Linked DNA regions of Homo sapiens: region 1 is linked to region 2. The links are contacts of gene promoters, found by promoter capture Hi-C in blood cells and fetal thymus (Javierre and others, 2016). All regions are on one chromosome and are shown on one strand. The core of a region is centred on a gene start or on the middle of the fragment in contact, and the rest is flanking DNA. Distances in the headings are between cores, read along the strand shown.

Region 1 (7,439 bases), core at 4,454-6,953, 590 kb before region 2:
TGAACACGCCCCTAATAAAGCAAAGACAATTCACCGCTTGTTTCATCTGCTCAGGGCAGTTATTTTAATTAATTAATTAAAAAAGACAGGACCTTACTATGTTGCCCAGGCCAGTCTTGAACTCCTGGGCTCAAGTGGTTCTCCCACATTGGTCTCCCAAAGTGCTAGGATTACAGGCGTGAGCCCCTGCACCCACCCAAGTCAGTGATTCTAAAAACTGTCCCAGGCTGGGTGTGATGGTTCACGCCTGTAATCCCAGCACTTTGGGAGGCCCAGGTGGGTGGATCACCTGAGGTCAGGAGTTCAAGACCAGCCTGGCCAACATGGTGAAACCCCATCTCTAATAAAATACAAAAATTAGCCAGGCATGGTGGTGGGTGTCTGTAATCACAGCTACTTGGGAGGCTGAGGCAGGAGAACCTGGAAGGCAGAATTTGCAGTGTGCCAAGGTCACAACATTGTACTCCAGCCCCTGTTTCAAGAAAAACAAAAAACTGTCCCTGCCACTAACCGGCAGCCTTGTTGTCCACTTACTGCCGGGCTCTCTGCCTGTTCTCCCTGAACAGCTGATAACTTGTCCCATGCAGTCACACTTACCAGTGCTCCCCTCTGGCCAGGCTGCATCTACACCCCTGGCAAGGGGCAGCCCCTCCCGTGACTGCCTGCCTGAGGCCCGGAGGCCCAGAGGCTGATGGGCAGTGAGATGCTGCAGCCTTTGCCTCCTGCCTCGATGTGCAGACTCTCCCTGAGCAAACCTCTGTGGCTCTGGCCCAGGTATGGTCACTCCCTCTCAGGAACAGTCTCAGACACCCTCCAAAACTTCTCTCAAAGAGTTATTTACATTTCTTCCTAGCATCTTGGAACAGAGAAAATGTAGCCAACATCAGGGTCTATGCAGAAGAGCGTGCAGAGCAGCCCTAGACCGCTGTCCTTAGGAAGGCCTGCTTGCCAGGAGGGCTCAGGCTGGCTTCCAGGTATTTAGGTGTCAGGAGGCTTCCCACCATTCCCTAAATGATGGGAGTGGCTCAAGGTGCCTAGGCTGAGCAAATGACGTGGTGTGTGCCACACCCCTGCTTTCCTTCTGGGAGTCTGGAATTTTGGTTCATGGCAGGCAGAGGGTTCCCACATGACATTCTGATGGCTCAACACAGAGCTGGCAAGGCAGGTCTGAGCTCTAGGTAAGAACATGATACCAGCTATGTTGGTTGCACTGGTACCACTGCTGACCTGATGTGGCCATTAAGAGGTTCCGGACCCAGAGACCGGGGCAGAGCACGGTGACTGGGGCCTAGCCTCAGGAGCCAGGCTGCCAGAATTCCAATCCCTGCCTTGTTTCATACTAGTTATGAGACCTCAGCCAAACCTAACCTATTTGGGCCTCAGTGAACTCATCTGTAATACTGGGATCATAACAACCTACCTCATAGAGGTATTGTGAAGACAAAACAAATACAGGAATAGTGCCTAGAACAAATGCGGGGACTATGAATATTAAGTGCTATGATTAGTAATACTGCAGCCAGACCTGTCTGCCTAATGCCCGCTTGCAGGTCTGAGCCTGCCAGCTGAGCTCTTCCACATACTGCTCCTGACCACCGGTGTCTCTCTCGCTCCAGACTAAATATATCCCAGCTCTTCCAGGAATCTGTAAGAGATGCTTTCCAGGCCTCTCACCATCTCAGCCTCAAGACAAACTGTTTTGTGATAAAATTCTTAGAAAATGAGAATGGGAACTGACTGTGGCCAGGGTAGGCGCTTCTGCCAGTGGCCTCCCTCTCCCCAGAAAAAGCAAAGAGTGAGGGTTTTGTGTGTGAGGGAGTGAGCAAGTGTGAGTGTGCAAACACCTGGGCTACAAAACTCATCTTCGGGAGGAGGAAGGCCACCACTGGCTGGCTCTGCCCACACACCACCGGCCTTCCTCCTCGGGCCCCACTTCACCTCCTTCCCCCAACCAATGGAGAAAAGCTTTCTGGGCTGACCCAGGACTCTTGTAACTGGGCAGCCTCCTAGCTCATAGCTGCACACTGGTCCTCCTAACATCACCCTTCCACCGTGTCACTAGCCCAGCACAAAAACTGCAGCTTCAGTGCCTGCTGGACCTGCCCCTCTCTCACAGTCCTTCCCAACCTAGACCTGCTCTCCCAGTGGGCCTCAGGCTCGGGCTCCCTGATCAGACCCTGCCACAGGACCTCTCAACCTGGAGGCTGTGCTCACATTGCCCTGGGCTTCTGGGAACCCTCCCTGCTCCTCTCCACCTTACAGTGACCTACCACTCCCCAAGGTCACTCCTGGCCACCTTCTCCATGAAGCTACGTAGTGTGAGGATATTCCCCTCATCAGATCTGAAAGGTCAATGGCCCAAACTCCTCACTTTACAGAACAGGAAACTGTGGTATGAGGAGGCCTTAGGATGGGGCCATGGGCATGTCTGAACCAGGGTGTCCCTAGGCTACTTAACTGTGCAGCCAGACCTGAAAAGGACACTTGACTGTCCCTGCCCAACAACATCCAATTTGCCTAGCCTCTCCCTTCTCCCCAAATGCTTGGGGGCACTAATGACGCCAAGGGCCTGGCACAGTGTTTGCTCTGCCTAGTCACACGCTGCCCCCCATCCATGGCTGCCTCGGACTGGCCAAAGCTCAGGAGCCACCACGGTTGCAGAACTGGCTCCAGGTGCCCATCCAGAAGAACGTGGAGCAGTTGCTGGTATCAGCACCAGATACCTGATACCTCACTGATATCAGCACCAGAGTTTCCCAGCATCGTCACAGCCCACACACAACCTAGCCCAAACGGTGCCCAGGCTGTCACGGCCTGGGGCTCTCCCTCCAGTTCTCAGATCTAAACGCCTTACCTGCAGGCTTCCCAAGACAAAACTTGGGGTTTGTTCTATCTTTGTTTCTCCCCATTTCCACGTCCCCAGCCCCCGGGATCCAGGATTCCACCAAGAACAGAAGTATGAGATTTACTCACTGCCTCCGAGGCCTTCATGCCCACTCTACCAGGATAACTTGTAACGAAACAAGCCACGCCAAGGGGGTTTCCCCAGGTGGAGACTGGGCCGTGGGTACCGGCGGCGGAGAGCTGGAGAGAGGTTGTCCGAGGACCTGAACTTCCCGGCACGAACCCCTGAGCATCAGGCCTGCCCAGCCTCACCCAGCCGATCCCGAAGTTGCGGGGGGGTCCCAGCTCTTTCTCGCCCTACCGCCTTCGGGGCCGCACTGCGCCGAGGGGTCCGCGCGTCCGCCTGCCTTACCTGGCGCGCCATCCCCGGGCTCAGCCTCCCCGCCACTCCTCGGTTTCCGGCGCGGGCCCTGGCGCGGGCGCACGCGACCCTCGTCGGCGGCGGCCCAGGTCCGCGCAGGAGAAGGCGGGGCCGGGGGCCTGGGCCGAGGGGGAGGGGCGGGGGTGGGCGCGCCCGGGCCCGCCCCCGGCCTCGTTGAGCCCGCCCCGAGCGCCTCGCATCCCTTGGTGGGTGGTGCCGTTTCCGCCCGGAGCCCCCGGCTTCGGCGGCCCGGCCGGCCGGCGCAGACGCGGACTACACTTCCCAGAAGGCGCCGCGGCGCCGGCTCGGAAGCGGGGGGCGGAGACAGGGCGGGGCGGACCTGGCTCGGGCCTCGTCCCCGCCCCCTCCCCTCGTCCCCGCCCCCAGCTGCGGGTAGAGGTTGCGCGCCGAGACCAGCCGGGGCGGCTGTGGGCGTGCAAGCCCGCGGGTACGCGCCGCTTATCACTCATTCATTCCCGCAGCCACCACTCAGCGCGTCCCATGTGCCAGGGGCTGATGGTGGGGATGAAGAGGGACCCATCTTTCCCAGAGGCCGCGGTCGGGGAAACCCGACCTGGAGTGAAAGGGGTCGAGGGTCCGGCCGGGCGTGGGTGGGACAGAGCAGCTGCCAGGCCCCCGTACATCCTCACGTCTTTCGCCCGCGCCCCCGCTCGCCGCAGCCATGACCTACCTTCGTGTCACATTTTGCGTGCCTGTTTGCTGGGGTGGTAACCCCAGTTGTTCCTGGCACATAGTAGGCCTCAAATAAACGTGTGATGCGGGAAGGAAGCGCGGCCCACTCTCCTCTGCCTCCCCCTGCGCTTCACGAGTTCGAAGGCCTGGTCTGGGCGGGCGCTGCGAGAGCGCTCCGGGGGTGCGGGCGAGGCGCAGCGAGCCTGGTTTTCCTGTCTGGAGAAGGACCCCGTCATTTTTATAGAAGGCTGCTGGAAGGGGGCCTGCGGGGCTAAGCCTGCTGTGCCAGACAGAAGCTTGGAGGGGAAGGGGAGGCTGTGGTCCCACGCAGAGGAGACTCTGCTCTGAGTTTGGAAGCCCCGTCCAGACCTTGCGGCCCAGACAGCGCTCTGCCTGGGCAATATCGGAGGGAAGGAAAGGGAATTCCTCGCCCAGTCGCCCGGGGCTGGCCCTTGCAGCCGCGCCGGCCATGATCACGGACTCGGGTACGATGCCGACAACCCCTCGTCCCGGCCTCCGAGGAAAGGCGCACGCCCACTCGGGCAAAGCCCCCTCGGTCATACCCGAGACACCTTAGACACAGGACCGGCGTGTGCGCAGCCTGCTGAACAAGGATTTGAAGATATCACAAGGCCCCACCTCGCGGAAAGGGAAAACTTAAAAGTCCAACTTTTCAAGAGCCCTACAGGCCACAGCCCTCAGGGTAAGTCGCCTCCTGGGCTTTAGGCCGGGTCCCACCTCCGTGCCGAGGTGAGGCGGGCTCCTTACAGTAATGTGTTCCTGCTCCCAGCTCCTCTCCACCGCCCACCCTCCGGCCCGGGATCCCTAAACGTTAAAACCCCCTAAATCAGGGGTCCCCAACCTTTTGGGCCAGAGCCCGGTTTTGTGGAAGGGAATTTTTGCATGGACTGGGAGGGGGGTTGTTTTGGGATGAAACTGTTCCAACTCAGATCACCAGGCATTAGATTCTCCTAAGGAGCCCGCAACCTGGATCCCGCATTCACAACAGGGTTCTGGCTCCTATGAGAATCCAGCACCTGCAGATCTGACAGGAGGCAGAGCTCAGGGGTAATGCGAGCAAGGGGGAGTGGCTGTAACTACAGATAAAGCTTTCCCTGGCTTGCCCGCAGCTCACCTCCTGCTGCACTGCCCAGCTCCTAACAGGCCAGGACTGGTACTGGTCCATAGCCCAGGGACTGGGGACCCCTGCCTTAAACTTAAACACCTGTAGAAAGAAATCTCTATCCAAGTAAGATGCACCTTTGTTTTAAGCTGTGCAGATTCTTGGCACCTCTTTGACTCAAACGTCCACTTCCTGGCTAGGCTTCCTGCCCCATTTGTGGACCATCAGTCGCTAAAAGCAGTTCACCAACATGAAATTTGCTGCATGGCCAATTATTTAAATTATGGAGACACTTCCTGGCACCCCTATCCCCCAAATTTTAGTTGCGCCTTTGACCCTGTAGACCTGTATTTACCTCAGCCCGTGTGTGTGCGTTAAAAAATAGTTGTGAAGACCTGTCCTGAACCAGGTTTATTGGATGGCTCTGGACACAGACAAAGGCAGGAGTGGAGCTGAAACACATCTTTAAAAATTCCTTGGCTGGGGCCAGGCACGGTGGCTCACACCTGTAATCCCAGCACTTTGGGAGGCCAAGGCTGGTGAATTGCTTGGGCCTGGGAGTTCCAAACCAGCCTAGGCAACATGATGAAACCCCATCTCTACAAAAAATGCAAAAATTAGCCAGGTGCAGTGGTGTACCCCTGTAGTCCCAGCTGCTTGGAAGGCTGAGGTGGGAGAATCTCTTGAGCCCAGGAGGCAGAGGGGGGTTGCAGTGAGCCAAGATCACACCACAGCACTCCAGCCTGGGTGACAGAGCAAGACCCTGTCTCAAAAAAAAAAAAAAAAAATTTCAATAATTCAGATTGGTTGTTTAGCAAGTTGATATTCAGTGGTTTAGCTTTTACCATATTTGGCTTTTGGCTATCTGGTCATTCTGTGAATTGACTTTTGGTGAACTAGTCGGCACTTTTCCCAAATGAATCTAAAGGCAAATTGTGCTGGCCAGTCCTCCATGTGAAAATGGCTGCAACTTTAAAATATTTTCTGATTTTCATTATTATTTCTTTTTCCATCCATGAGATTATTTAAAAGTACTTTTTAATTTCCAAATACGAATCTTTTTATGAGTTATTTTGTTTTTGAGTTTTGCCTTATAGTCAGAGAATGTAGTAAGTGATGTTGATTTTTTAGAATTTTCTGAGACTGCTTTGTGGCCAAGTGTGCAATAGATGTTTGAAAATGTTCCATGTTTGCCTAAAAGAGTACATATATTCTAATATTGGTGTAGGATCTAGTTAGAGCTGTAAAATCAAGCTTATCAATCATGTGGTTTATGCCTTCTATAGTTTATCATCTTTTTGCATTTGGAACTATCAGTTACTAAAGAGGTGTTAAAATCTCATATCAAGTTTGTGCATTTGTCAATTTCTCCCTGAATTTGTGAGAATTTTCGCTTCATGTGTTTGGAGGCTGTGTGCTTACAAATTTAGAATTGTAGTATTTTCCTGGAGAATTGTTCATTCTATTATTAGAAAGTAACACTATCCCTAATAATAGTCTTTGTCTATAATCCATTTTGTTTGATATTGCTGCAGCTACACTAACTTTATTTTGGCAAGTATTTCTTTGATATATCTTTTCCTGTCCTTTTACTTTCAAACTTTGTGTATATTTATGTTTCAGATGTGTGTCATATAAGAGCATGTAGCTAGATTTTGTTGTTGCTGCTGAATCCAGTCTGACAATCTCTATCATAATCATGAATCTACTGATTTGAAAGTTATGCTTTCCTTTTTTATTCATTTGGGGGTTACTCTGTAATTTTACACACATATTTGGTTTAATAGAATCTAATATTACTACTTCTGATCTTCTCGCAAATGATAGAAAGCTTTTTGAATATGAGTTTAATCACACTCTTCCCCTTCTGTCTTGTGTGTAATTATTGTTCTTTTTAGTTACATCTTGTTTTTAAGACTCTCTCCTGATATTTGAAGTCATTGTTTTTGTTTTATACAATCTATGCTGTTTAGATTTACCAATGTGCTTACCACTATCTTTGTTCACTCTTTTTTCTTGCCTCTTTCTTCTTCCTTCTGGGTTCAATGTTCTTCCTGAAGCAGAACTTTTAAAATTTATTTCAGCAAGGATATTTTAGAAGTGGATACTTTCAGTTATATAAAATGTCTTACATTTTTCTCACTCCTGAATGATACTTTAGCCAGGGAGAGAACTGTTTCACACTTCTAATATTTTATTCCATTGTCTCCTGACTTTCATTGTTGCTATTGAAAAGTCTGCTGTCAGTCTAATTATTCCTTTGCATATGATTTAACTTCTCTGGCTTCATTTAAAATCATCTGTTTGGCCGGGCATGGTGGCTCACACCTGTAATCCCAGCATTTTGGGAGGCTGAAG
Region 2 (7,280 bases), core at 4,754-7,253:
GCTACTCGGGAGGCTGAGGCAGGAGAATCAGTTGAACCTGGGAGGTGGAGGTTGCAGTGAGCCAAGATCACAGCATTGCACTACAGCCTGGGGGACAGAGCAAGACTCTGTCTCAAAAAAAAAAAAAAAAAAGAGAGAGAGAATATAAGGAAGTCGGTGGAGTAATAAATTGATATAACCTCTTCTGAGCAACTTAGTAGTGTATCGATTATAAATAAGTAGACCTTTTGATCAAGCAATATTTTTCTAGGAACGTATTCTATAAATATATTTGCAAATGTAAGATTCATCAAAAGCAATACTTGATGCTTTTTGACTATAAACTAAAATTTGACTATAAACAAAACGTCTAGTAGAGGACTGGATGAATAAATTGTGGTAAATTGGTATGCTGCGTAGCTATCAAAGAAGGTGTGAACATATTTAAAATGTCTAAAACTGTTTAAAAGTGTCAAAAGCAAAGAATTTTCCACTAGGATAATAGACTAAGCTAAAACAGGAAACCCTCCCCGCTACTTCAAATTCAATAGAAATGCTAAGTAAAATATATATTTTTAAATGTTTCCAAAGCTGGATTATGGCTGGGGCTTATTACATTGTTCTGCATATGTTTTTTGTTTGTTTGTTTTGTTTTGTTTTTGAGGCAGAGTCTCACTCTTGTTGCCCAGGCTGGAGTGCAGTGGCCCGATCTTGGCTCACTGCAACCAACGCCTCCAAGGTTTAAGCAATTCTCCTGCCTCAGCCTCCCGAGTAGCTGGGACTACAGGCGTCCGCCACCACACCCAGCTAATTTCTGTATTTGTAGTAGAGATGGGGTTTCACCGTATTGGCCAGGATTGTCTCAATCTCCTGATCTCGTGATCCATCAGCCTCTGCCTCCCAAATTGCTGGGATTACAGGTGTGAGCCACCACACCCAGCCTGTTCTAATATGTTAAAAGAATTGCCCATAGTAAAATCTTTCCTTAATAAAAAGTCCATATTTATCAACCTGAGAAAAATGCAATTGAAAAATGGACAAGGAGCAAGAACAAAAACTTAACTAGAAGTTGGCAATTTAGCACGTAATAAGAATTTTTTGTATCATTAGCAACTAGGGAAATCCAAATAAAAACTACATTGAGATACCCCTACACTGAAACAGACCCAATTGCCCTATAGAACTGATGTTTATGGTTTCTTTGAATAAACACAGTAACTGATCCTTTTAGTCTTAAAACTTGAGACAGTTACATTTGTCTTATCTGAGTTCCTTTCTCAGGAAAGCAACCATCAGGCCTCCCAGATAGTATTAACCAGTTGAAACTCACAGGATCACTGAATTTGGACAATGAAAGTCAGACCCCTCACCCATCATGATTGCCTAACCCACCACCTGCTTCCTGTTGACCAAACCCTCTTCCTTACCCCTAACCAATTCATGTTTTTCCACATATGGTTACATTTCCTCCCAGCAATAGAAGCCGCTCATTTTAGCCTGTCAGGGAGATGGATTTGAGACTGATCTCCCATCTCCCATCTCCCATCTCCTCAGCAGTAACACCCAATTAAAGCCTTCTTCGTTGGCAACACTTGTTGTTGTCATGATTGGCTTTCTGAGCCACAAACAGCAGCACCTAGACCAAACCCCTGGTGTTTCAGCAACACCACCATTGATTAGAATGTCTAACGGTTTTTTTAAATGCTAAAAATACCAAATAAAGAACGTGGGCCAACTGAACTCTCATGCGTTCACAAGGGGAACACATAATAGTACAGTCACTCTTAAAAATGGTTTGCTAGTTCCTTGTAAAATTAAATATACATATTTACCGTGACTCAGCAGTCCCACTCCTGGGTATCTACCTTAAAGAAATAAAAATTTATTTTCACACAAAAACCTGTATGCAAATGTTTATAGCAGCTCTATTCAGAATTCCAAAACTTGGAAAAGGCTGGGCACAGTTGCTCATTCCTGTCATCCCAGCACTTTGGGAGGCCAAGGCAGGCGGATCACTTGAGGTTAGGAGTTTGAAACCAGCCTGGCCAACATGGTGAAACCCCTTCTCTACTAAAAATACAAAAATTAGCCAGGTGGGGTGGTGTGCACCTGTAATCCCACCTACTCAGGAGGCTGAGGTGGGGGAGTCGCTTGAACCCCAGAGGTGGAGGTTGCAGTGAGCCGAGATCATGCCACTGCACTCCAGCCTGGGCAACAGAGTGAGACTCCATCTCAAAAATAAATAAATAGGCCGGGTGCAGTGGCTCATGCCTGTAATCTCAGTACTTTGGGAGGCTGAGGCAGGCAGATCACCTGAGGTTGGGAGTTCGAGACCAGCCTGACCAACATGGAGAAACCCCGTCTCTACCAAAAATACAAAATAGCCAGGCGTGGTGGCACATGCCTGTAATCCCAGTTACTAGGGAGGCTGAGGCAGGAGAATCGCTTGAACCTGGGAGGCGGAGGTTGCGGTGAGCTGAGATTACTCCATTGCACTCCAGACTGGGCAACAAGAGCAAAACTCCATCTCAAAAAATAAATAAATAAATAAACAAATAAGTATAAAAAATAATAAAACGGAAAAAATACAAATATCCTTCAATGGATAAATACTCTTCAGTATATCATAACATGGAATACTATCAGCAATTAAAATAAAACTGTTGTAGGCCAGGCGCAGTGGCTCATGCCTGTAATCCCAGCGCTTTGGGAGGCCGAGGTGGGTGGATCACCTGAGGTCAGGAGTTGGAGAACAGCCTGACCAATATGGTGAAACCCTGTGTCTACTAGAAATATAAAAATTACCTGGGTGTGGTGGGATGCACCTGTAGTCCCAGCTACTCGGGAGGCTGAAACAGGAGAATCATTTGAACCTGGGAGGTGGAGGTTGCAGTGAGCCAAGATCGAGCCACTGCACTCTAGCCTGGGCAACAGAGCAAGACTCCGTCTCAAAAAAATAACAATAAAAAATAAATAAAATAAACTGTTTTCACACACAATGATATGGATACCAACTAAATTGTGACCTTTTTTCCTTTCTTGTCCAAATTTCTAACTAAGGGACATAGGAAATCATGCCCTACAAACTATAAAAATCTCACCAGAAGGGTTTTATTTAACCCTATATAACCGCTTAGTTTCCAACCTGACTCTGGCATAACATTGCATGACAAAGAAGGAAATCAAAATATTTTATCCCCAAATATGCTTCTTTGCAGTATATATTATATATTTATATGAAAATATAGGGCCAGGCACAGTGGCTCATGCCTGTAATCCCAGCACTTTGGGAGGCCGAGGTAGGTGGATCACGAGGTCAAGAGTTGAAGACTAGCCTGGCCAACATGGTGAAACCCCATCTCTACTAAGAATACAAAAATTAGCCCAATGTGGTGGCACATACCTGTAATCCCAACTACTTGGGAGGCTGAGGCAGGAGAATCGCTTGAACCTGGGAGGCGGAGGTTGCAGTGAGCCAAGATCACACCACTCTACTCCAGCCTAGGCAACAGAGCAAGACTACGTCTGGAAAAAACCCAACAAACAAACAATATATATATATATATAATTTTATTTTATTTTATTTTATTTTTTTGAGACAGAGTCTCCCTCTGTCTTCCTCTCTCACCCAGGCTGTAGTGTCAGCACAATCTGTGCTCACTGCAACCTTCGCCTCCCAGGCTCAAGTAATCCTCCCACCTCTGCCTCCCAAATAGCTGAGATTAACGTCTTTGCCACTGTGCTGACAAAATCTTGTATTTTCTGTAGAGATGGGGTTTCGCCATGTTGCCCAGGCTGGTCTTCAACTCCTGTGCTCAGGCAATCCTACTGCCTCAGCCTCCCAAAGTGCTGGGATTACAGACGTGAGCTACTGCGCCCGGCCAGAGAATCTAGCACCTTTTAAAGGTTTAAATAGGAAATTTTTGCCATCTAAAGACAGTCACTATGAGACATCCTAAGAATCTTGGTCTCCACAACCCCTTATCTTAACCCAGACACTCCTTTCTATGAACCTGGTCTTCAGATAGCCAATTGCCAATCAGAAAATCGCTGAATCCGCCTGTGACCTGTAAGCACCGCTTGGAGTTGTCCCGCCTTTCCTGACAGAACCAGTGTACACTTTACATGTATTGACTGATGTCTTAAGTCTTCCCAAAACGTGTAAAATCAAGCTGTAACCCAACCACCTTGGATACATGTTCTTAGGACCTCTTCAGACAGTACCTTGGCCTTCCTCACTCATATTTGGCTCAGAATAAACTTCTAAATATTTTACAGTTTGACTCTTCGTAAACATGGATGAATCACAAAAGCATTACGCTTTTGAGGAGCCAGTCACAAAAGGTTATATCATACTGTATGATTCCATTTATATACCATTTCTAAAAAGAGAAAACTAGGTTTCAAGAGCAGATCAGTCCTTGCCAAGGATCCAGGTGTCGGAGGGAGTGACCATAAAGCAAATGAAGCACAGAAGAGAATGGCAGCACAAGGAGTTTCAGGGTGGGACAGGGCTCTTCCGTATCCTGGTTACAGTGGTTACTACACGTATACATACATATGTGAAAATTCATAGAACTTTACACCCAAAGAAACGTTAGTTTTTTTGTTTGTTTGTTTTTGGTTTTTTTGAGATGGAGTCTCCCTCTGTCGCCCAGGCTGGAGTGCAGTGGCGCGATCTCGGCTCACTGCAAGCTCCGCCTCCCGGGTTCACGCCACTCTCCCGACTCAGCCTCCCTAGGAGCTGGGACTACAGGCGCCCGCCACAACGCTCGGCTATTTTTTTTTTTTTTTTTTTTGTATTTTTAGTAGAGACGGGGTTTCGCCGTTAGCCAGGATGGTCTCGCTCTCCTGACCTCGTGATCCGCCCGCCTCCGCCTCCCAAAGTGCTGGGATTACAGGCGTGAGGCACCGCGCCCATCCGAAACGTTAGTTTTAATGTAAGGTTTTTTTTTTTTAACCCTTTAATCAGTAAGGTGCATCTACATTTCACGATTCCGGGACAAATACAGATGTGCACACGCTCCTCAGCCTATGCAGGGACTACTTTCTCATGGACATCCTTTCTAACTACACACTTTTCATTTGTTACTTTAGCCTGACACCTAAAACATGACTAGGACAGAATGCGAGGTTGATTTTCTGGGGACAGTCGCCACCCCCTTCCTTGCCCTCTCTCTCCTTTCTGTCTCTCCCTGGTTTCCCCTTCTGCGTCTTCCCACCTCTCCCGTTTTTGCGTCTTCGTGTTTCTCACGCCCTGTGTCATGGCCTCCTCCGTCTTCTCCCGCTCTGTCACAGTCTCCCGCCGGGGGCTAGGGGTGCCCGGCCCGCATCCCTGGGCGACCCTGAGTCCCCGCAGGCGGCCCCGAGGCCGGGGTGGCTTCCGCATGGGGTCTCTGCCCGAGGCCTTTCTCTGCCAAGGAGGGAGTGTGGACGCTCGGGGAGCCCAGAAGGGCGCTGCACCCACGGGGACCGGACGTGGTGGGCGGACCCCTCCTCCGCGTCCCCGACGGGACATGCCCGGGGCCCACACGGCCTCCGCGCCCCCGGCGGGACGGACACCCCGGGCCACCGCGCGCCCCCCACCACCTACCCGGCCTCGCTGGATTCCCGGGACCCCCTCACAAACGAAACCCTCGAGCTCATCCCTGACTTGGGGGCAGCTTTGGAAGGAACAGCACCGGACTCTCACCCTCTCGCTGCCTCTCAGTCCGGGTTTCTGTGGAGCGCGTCTCCCAGTCGCTGTCCCTACTCTCTCCCTGTTCCTGCTCTCTCCATGTTCACCTGCCCCTCCGTTTCCCCTCCCGTCAGCTCCCTCATCTCGTCTTCGACCGCATCCCTCGCATGCAGATCCGGGAGTCCAAGGGTCCCTCAAAGACCGGCGTGCTGCGGCCCGCACGGAGGGTGCCCGGGCCCCTCCTCTGAGGACCGACTCCCTCTGGCGGCGCCGCTCCTCCCGCCCGCAGGGGGCGCTATGGGGCGGAGCGGCTTCCGCTTCCGAGCGCCGAGTCCCAGCATGCACCGCGCCCGGCCGGCTCTGCCTTTGGGGGCCAGCAGGGCTGTACCTGGGAGTTGGGTTGGGGCGGAGCGGAGGGGAGGCCGTGCCAGGCAGGGCCGGTTCGTGCGGAACCGCCATGGCCGAGCCGGCTTCGGTAAGAAGGGCCGGTGGAGGATGCAGGCTCTGTCGAAACTCGGGTCCCTGTCGCAGCTGGATTGGGGTCCGCGTCCAGGGAGTGGGGCGGCCGGGGCCTGGGCCTGGGGGTTGGCAGTGGCCCACGGACTGAGCTCCGGGCTGGGCTGGAGAAGGTGCAGTCTTGCTGCGTGTGCTGTTCTGGAATTGACCTGGGGAAAAGCTGGTCTGGCCGGGCTTGGCCGCGCGCGTCTGTGGCCCCGGCCACTCGGAAGGCTGAGGCGGGAGCAGCGCTTGAGCCCGGGAGCTCTGCGCTGTATATGCGCTAGGTCCGTCGCGCGGTGCCTCTGAGTTCTGCATCTGTGTGGTGACCTCTCGGGAGCGGGGACCACCAGGTTCCCCAGGGAGGGGGAACCGGCCCAGCTCGGAAACCGAGCAGGGCAAAACCCCAGTGCTGATCGTTAGTGGGATCGCGCCTGTGAATAGCCACTGCCCTCCAGCCTGGGCAACAGCCAGACCCCGTCTGTTTAATACATAAATAAAAGTTGGTTTGGGAGAAAGAATCCGGGTGGGAAAGATCTGTTTCTCGGCCTGTTGTAGGCTCAGATCAACAACGCTGTCCCTGCCTTCAGTGTCGGGGCTCTGAACCTCGGGGTCTCTCTGGGGCCCGTGCTCTCCTGCTGAAGGTAGTTTCAGAGAAGCACATCAGTGTTAAGCAGATGAGAAAAAGGAGAAGGAAAGCTGGAACTGAGAGAAATTGGAGACCGCTCCCTCTAGGAAAGGACAGAAAACTTAAAATGAATTGGGTGGTTAGCGTAAATCGAATTTACCGTAAATGCTGTAGTATTGTAATGTAGTATTGAAAATTTGAGCACCGGTTTTAGAGTTTGAAAGGCGTATCCTGAGGCTTAATCCAAGAAACCCTGTTACATTCAGTTAAGTATAACTTGCTTAAGTGTGCAAGTTTTTCTTGTGCCCCCAATGAAATTTTATAATCTTAGGAATGTAATGCTCCTTATTTGCATTTGATTCTTCCCTTTTGCTTCCCACTCCTTTTCCCCACCCTCCTTTGGCAGGTACAGATTCTTTTCTGATTTCTCCAAGCTTTGTTTCTACAGCCAGGCTTTCTTTTTTTCTCTCCTCTTTAAGTGATTGGGAATCTCCTGGAATA

Evidence for each region. The method cuts DNA at HindIII sites, captures the fragments that hold promoters and counts their contacts. A CHiCAGO score of 5 or more calls a contact.
Region 1: a fragment that was not itself captured here is called in contact with the fragment with the promoter of ZNF425 in region 2 in 1 of 17 cell types (total B cells); the score reaches 5.5 in total B cells.

The regions. Positions count from the first base shown.
Region 1 is chr7:149,710,884-149,718,322 of GRCh38, reverse strand. KRABD3 (KRAB domain containing 3) reads right to left here and starts at 3,372. Exons shown (of 17, transcript NM_001290187.2): 1 at 3,257-3,372. The coding sequence starts at 3,268. RefSeq lists enhancers at 2,450-3,082, 3,720-4,219 and silencers at 3,285-3,724, 4,551-4,845. The HindIII fragment of the contact is 1,268 bases long and covers 5,070-6,337 here.
Region 2 is chr7:149,125,047-149,132,326 of GRCh38, reverse strand. ZNF425 (zinc finger protein 425) reads left to right here and starts at 6,003. Exons shown (of 4, transcript NM_001001661.3): 1 at 6,003-6,131. The coding sequence starts at 6,114. It also overlaps the pseudogene RN7SL521P and a transcript of ZNF398 not described here. RefSeq lists enhancers at 5,024-5,073, 5,737-6,288, 6,289-6,840, 7,088-7,280 and silencers at 5,234-5,673, 6,405-6,578. The HindIII fragment of the contact is 7,753 bases long and covers 1-7,215 here.